2 separate regions of the Homo sapiens genome follow, and region 1 is linked to region 2. The links are contacts of gene promoters, found by promoter capture Hi-C in blood cells and fetal thymus (Javierre and others, 2016). All regions are on one chromosome and are shown on one strand. The core of a region is centred on a gene start or on the middle of the fragment in contact, and the rest is flanking DNA. Distances in the headings are between cores, read along the strand shown.

The links. The method cuts DNA at HindIII sites, captures the fragments that hold promoters and counts their contacts. A CHiCAGO score of 5 or more calls a contact.
Region 1: a contact is called between the fragment with the promoter of ADCY4 here and the fragment with the promoter of PNP in region 2, in 1 of 17 cell types (non-activated CD4 T cells). The highest score is 5.8, in non-activated CD4 T cells.

The regions. Positions count from the first base shown.
Region 1 is chr14:24,333,737-24,336,494 of GRCh38, forward strand. ADCY4 (adenylate cyclase 4) reads right to left here and starts at 1,335. Exons shown (of 25, transcript NM_001198568.2): 1 at 758-1,335. The coding sequence starts at 916. It overlaps RIPK3 (receptor interacting serine/threonine kinase 3), which reads right to left. Exons shown (of 10, transcript NM_006871.4): 10 at 2,289-2,659. The coding sequence ends at 2,439. RefSeq lists silencers at 1-71, 732-891, 962-1,041. The HindIII fragment of the contact is 4,552 bases long and covers 1-2,423 here.
Region 2 is chr14:20,468,128-20,471,208 of GRCh38, forward strand. PNP (purine nucleoside phosphorylase) reads left to right here and starts at 1,279. Exons shown (of 6, transcript NM_000270.4): 1 at 1,279-1,408. The coding sequence starts at 1,398. RefSeq lists enhancers at 1,046-1,550, 1,741-1,810, 1,841-1,970 and a silencer at 1,211-1,330. The HindIII fragment of the contact is 7,340 bases long and covers 1-2,395 here.

The DNA of each region.
Region 1 (2,758 bases), core at 85-2,584, 3.9 Mb after region 2:
GCCGGGGACCGCGGCCGGCAGCTTGAAGGGCGGCGCGAGGCAGCGCTCGAGCAGCAGGGGGCGCCAGGACCCGCGGCGTCCCGCACCTCCCTGGCCACCAGGGCTGCGATCTCGCCACCTGCCTCAACTCCAAGCAGAAGCTGCACAGCCGTCCCAGCATTTTGTCCCCACCTCTTCCCGGATTTAGGCGTGGACCAGCAAGGATTGGCCGCGCCCGGTGATTTTCCCACCTTGCCTCCAAGCAGTGAAAAGAAAACCAGGGGCAGGCCATTTCTAGAATTGGATTGAAGACCTTCTTCCTCCCCAAACAGAAACTGGACATGGGTTTACTTTGGGACTCAGTGAGAGCCCGGTGGAGGGTGCCTTCTGGGAGTCTGTGGGTACAACTGCTCTACATCCCCTAAGAGGGAGAGAAAGGCAGGAAATGAATTCCCCAGGGGCCTCCTAGAATTTCCCCTTTGGAAAACTGGAAAATCCGGTGATGGATTTATTGTAGAACCCGTAGACCACGGATGTTCATAAAGTCTGTCAGAACCCGGACAGAAACGAGAAGCATCCAGGACTCAGCTTTCTCCCTGAGCAGACCCAGAAGGGTAGAGTGACTTGCCCAGGGTCACTGCAGTTCCTAGCCAGGCTCAATGGTCCTTTCTTTCTCTGCTCCCAGCAACGAAAACACATCGAAAAGAAGACCCCACAAACCCCAACCCCGAAAATGCTCCCCAGGTAGAGACCCTCCCGCAGCAGAGGCTCGGCTCACCCTGCCGCTGGCCCAGGCCACTGCGAGCAGCGCCGCGAGCGCACAGAGCACGATCCCCAGCAGCAGCAGCAGCAGCGGGTACTGCTGGCTCAGGCTGTAGTAGGTCTCGTAGAAGAGGTCTTCGCTGGGGGGCGGCCGGGGGCTGAAGAGGCGGGCCATGATCTCCCCAGCCCCGAGCCCCGGGGCTGGCTAGGGCCGGGCGCCGGGTTACCTCCTTCGGCCCGGCGGGCCCCACCTGAGCTTTTCTCACCCGCTCAAAGCCGCTACCACCCCGCGCCCCCAACCTCGTGGCAATCCCGTCTCCTTTTTCAGGCCCTCCCTGCGGCCTCCCAGCCCGCTCCCAGCTGGCGATGAGGGGATCCCTCAGTCCTTTCCTCCTCCTCCCTCAAACCCGGATTGTAGAGGTGCCCTAGAAAAGCCTCATCGCCAGGAGGGCAGGATTTGGGGTTGGTGCGAGGGAGCCCCGGGTTCCCCTGATCCCCGAACTCACTGCCCGCGGCGCTGGCGCAGCGGAGTGGGCTAGGTCCGGGGAGGGAGCCGGGGACCTGATGGCGGAGTCACGCTCGCCGCTGCGCTCTGGCTCAGAGTCCCGGGCGACAGGCGCTTCCCTCCCGGCGCCGCGGCCCCCTCCCACTTCCCCGACGGGACAGCCCGGCCCCTTCCTGTGCCAAAGCCGGACTCCCCTGGTCTCCTCCCGCACTTGGTTTTGTCTCTCCTAACACCATCGCCTCCCCGCTTCAGCCCCTTCAGGGAAGGGCAATGTGGACCCTGGGAGAGATGCGAAGGGGTGGGCTGGGGTGGACCCAATGGGATGTGTCCAAATGGAGGTGAACGTTTGGTAGTGGGGAGACCGAGGGCGGGGGGCTGAAGCCTGGCGAGAATGTAGGGAAGAATGTGGGTCCTGGTGGGGATCTAGGTCAGAGTTGGGGGCGCTCATTCTCTTGACCTCTCCGCTTGGCTGGCAACCACTACCACCGGGTTTGAACTGTTCATGCTCCGTGGGAGGGGTTGCGCCTGTGTATAGCTTTAGGAGCCATAGCTTTCCACTCCCGAACAGCAACTGGGAATCAAAAGGGAAGCAATGTCCAGGAAGCAACCTGAGTGTGTGGTGGAGGCAGGTATGTGGCGTCATGATCTCTAAGAGCCTGGGGGCACCGTGCGGGGCCAGGTCTGTGATCTTTCACATCAACTCATCCCTCGCCAGAGCCCTGCAAGTGAGTCTTGAGAGCCCGGAAGAAAAGGGACCACAGCCTCTATCCCCAGAGTTTAGGGTTAGGGTGGGGTCGCCATCCTAGGCTTTAGAGGAAGCACTGCCCTGAGATTAGAGAGTGGTCTGGGGAACCAGGCCTCTAGGATTCCTTCCTGTTGTAGCCGGCTGTGCCCTGACCTTGTGTGCCAGGCCATTGCCCACTCCCAGCCCCCAGCATCCCCACTTCCTGCCATAGCAGAGCTGTGGTGCCTCCCTATCCCTCACTGGCAGCTCCCACCCCCATCCCAGTCCCTCCCTGCCCCTGGCTGAGCTCAGACTGACTAGCATTCCATCATGTTTATTGACTCCTGGGGGACAGGTCACAAAGTCAGTTTGTGGGCAGGCCAGACTGCCCTAGAAGGAAGTCAGGGGCCTCAAGGGGTGGCACTCTTCCTTAACTCGTAACTCTTGGAGGCAAGCTTGGAAGGTGCTTTATTTCCCGCTATGATTATACCAACCCTGTGGCCTGCTCCAGGCTTCAGGATCTTTAGGGCCTTCTTGCGAACCTACTGGTGGGGGGTGCTGCAAGCCCCTCCCCTTGCCCGAAGGTGCCAAGCCCCATGTGGGCAAGGCAGTTGTCTGTTGCATAGTCAAGTAGTTGTTGTCTCCAACTTGCACCCCAGAGCAGTTGTATATGTTAACGAGCGGTCGCCCTTTAAGAGAAATAGTGATGGTGGCAGGAGGGTTTAGCTGTCAGAAAGGCCAAGTTGGGGGTGGGTGGGGAGTATGAAGTCTCTACTTGTCAGTGGCTG
Region 2 (3,081 bases), core at 29-2,528:
CATTGGATTCCTGCATGTGAGAAGTTGAGTAGTGCCAAACAGATGTACATATCCCGTAAGTAACTGTTTGTGGTTATTTAAGAACGAAATTTTTTTTTCAATTTGTGTGCATTGTTATTTTCAAAGTGCTAGTAAGTTCTCAGGAACCAGCTACTCACTCTGTTGCCCAGGCTGGAGTGCAATGGTGTGATCTCAGGTCACTGCAACCTCCACCTCCCGGGTTCAAGCCATTCTCCCTGCCTCAGCCTCCCAAGTAGCTGGGATTACAGGCGCCTGCCACCACGCCCAGCTAATTTTTTGTATTTTTAGTACAGATGGGGTTTTGCCTTGTTGGCCAGGCTGGTCTCCGACACCTGACCTCAGGTGATCCACCCACCTCGGCCTCCCAAAGTGCTGGGATTACCGGCGTGAGCCACCGCGCCTGGCCTTTATATATAAATTTTTTTTTAATTTTTTAAATTAAAAATTAAATGTAAATTTAATGTAAAAATGTAAATTAAATGTAAAAATTAAATTGTAAATGTGGGCAGAAGTAATAGTTGTATTCTACCAAAGACACGCTATTTATGTTATATTCTGGTACCCGTGTATTCCGATAACAGAATTTTCTTCGTGGGAGGAGTCCTCTAGTTACCTGAATTGCTTGGATCAATATTGCGCAGATCAAGGGATTATCTGTGTCCCTACCCACCAAATCCATCCTTATCCTTTCTGTCGGCATCTAGGACCCCGGAATTCTTGCCTGAGAACTTTTTCTTCTCCCGGTCTGGGCCTGGATGTGCTCTCCTAAACCCTGTATCCTCCAAGTTAGCACTGTTGCCGGGGGCGACCCAGCTTCCCTTGTCCAGGGAGCAACTCAGACACAGTCTCGCTTCATTTTTATTCTGGGGTTGTACAATCTAAGGTATGAAATTTTTCCTTTTTGAATCTCTCACGGTTTGCTATTGACACAGCTGGAATGAGGTTGCAAGGAGAGGGCTGGGGGCTCTCCTCCCTACTTCTAGCCCTATTTCCGCATAGGCCTTCTTGCTGGGAACTCCTGCCCTGCGGACTGGAATGGGTACCGAGATGAAATGCTGGGTGCGCTCCGGCTCCCCCCGCCCGCCCCGGGGCAGAAGGTTTAGGGCTGGGAAGAACTCTGATTAGGTTTACAGCCCAGGTTCAGCCGATTGAATTAGGGTGTGTCACCATGGAGACAGGGCCGGCCCGCGTGCTCGCTTGCCATTGGCTGGGGACTCCAGGGCAAGGGATATAAGCCAGAGCCTAGACCAGTGAGCCAACTGTGCGAACCAGACCCGGCAGCCTTGCTCAGTTCAGCATAGCGGAGCGGATCCGATCGGATCGGAGCGGATCGGAGCACACCGGAGCAGGCTCATCGAGAAGGCGTCTGCGAGACCATGGAGAACGGGTGAGGAGGGCACCAGGCCCGCAGGACCCTTGGGGAGGGGCAGGTGCTGTGACCCGGGAACCTGGCACACTGGGCCCAGAGGGAGCTGGCGGAGGGAGCGAGCGCCCAGGGGATGCAGAGAGGCCTGGCACTGAGCCTAGTGTCGGGAGCAAGGCGGCAGAGTCATGCGGCAGCCAGCGCGGGCAGGGACGCACGCGGGAATCGAGCTGGGGTGGCGCCACCGGAGCAGGAAGGGGACAGGTCGGTGCGGTCTAAGCTACTCCGTAAAAGCAGCCGTTGTGTGTCTCCGTGTGTGTGTTAGGGGAACAAGTGGAGAGTGAGTATATGTATATATCCCTCACTCCATACCAGGAGGAGGTCTCCTCACCCCCTGCGCTCTTCATAAATTCCCATGCTAGGGTCTGGGTAAAGCTGCGAGGTACTTTTGGTGCTCAAATTCGGAGTTCCTCCTTTAGAGGCAAGATTACTCACCTCCTTTGCCAGTTGCACTCCTCCCTTCCTTCCAGACTGGCAGTATGATTAACTCGGTGGGAAGTGACTGCTAAGTGGAGACGGAAATCAGTCACCGAACTGAGCAACAGTCCTGTGCTCACTTCCCCCACCCCACGCCTTTGAAAACTCTTCTCTCGGCTTGGGTCCTGGATATCCCAGTCCAAGTGACCTGCATTAGGCATCACAGTTGCTTTTGGATGCCCAGGGAGCCAGGGTGTTCTTGAGGGGACTGATAGCCAATGAGGAAGTGCTGTGAGATGTGGCTAGACATGCCATGTGGCGGCAGCTTCACACATTCATTTCCTTTGCACCTTTTGGGGATGCCATTTGATTAACATTTTACCAGCTTAATTGCTTCTCTCCATTGTCCTGTGGCTCCGTTGACCAGCCCCCAACCTACCTGATCCAACTGCTTCCCTGAGGGTAGCCTGGTGTATTGTGCAATCATGTCTGGTTTCCCGGGCTCTGCTTTCCAAGTAAAAAATTTCCTGTGAAAGCTTGGTTAGTTGTGTTCAGCTCTGTCACACCTCATTGCCACCTCTGAAAGCAACGTTTGGTCTTCCCAGATGGATGTGAGAGAACTGGACTTGGAACTGGGAGAAAAGTAACACGGGTTGATTCTTGCTAGTGTAGGGGTTCTGGGTAAGTGCCCTGAGGTTTCTGAAGAGCAAAGATCCTCGGTGGAGAGAAAGGAAACTGGGAGGAGGCAGGGAGGGGGAAGGACAGGAAGAAGACCACAGGCAGGTGGAAAGCAGGAGAAAGATTCAAATACTTTGTGTAACAGAGCCATAGGTCTTTGGAAGTTGTTAGCAAGTATTCAATTCATTTTCAGATTGAGCCTATAAGATAGATGGGGCCAATTTACATCCCTTGTTTATACCTGAGAAAATAATTTAAAGCACAAATTACATGCCTAAAAAGACAATATTGGGACTAGAATCTAGGTCGAATTCTGCTTCCCTCCAGACCAGCAATTCCTAAACCTGGTTTTATTTTATTTTATTTTTATTTATTTATTTTGGAGTCGGAGTCTCGCTCTGTCTCCCAGGCTGGAGTTCAGTGGAGCGATCTTGGCTCACTGCAACCTCTGCCTCCCGGGTTCACACCATTCTACTGCCTCAGCCTCCCGTGTAGCTAGGACTACAGGGGCCCGCCACCACGCCCGGCTAATTTTTTTTTTT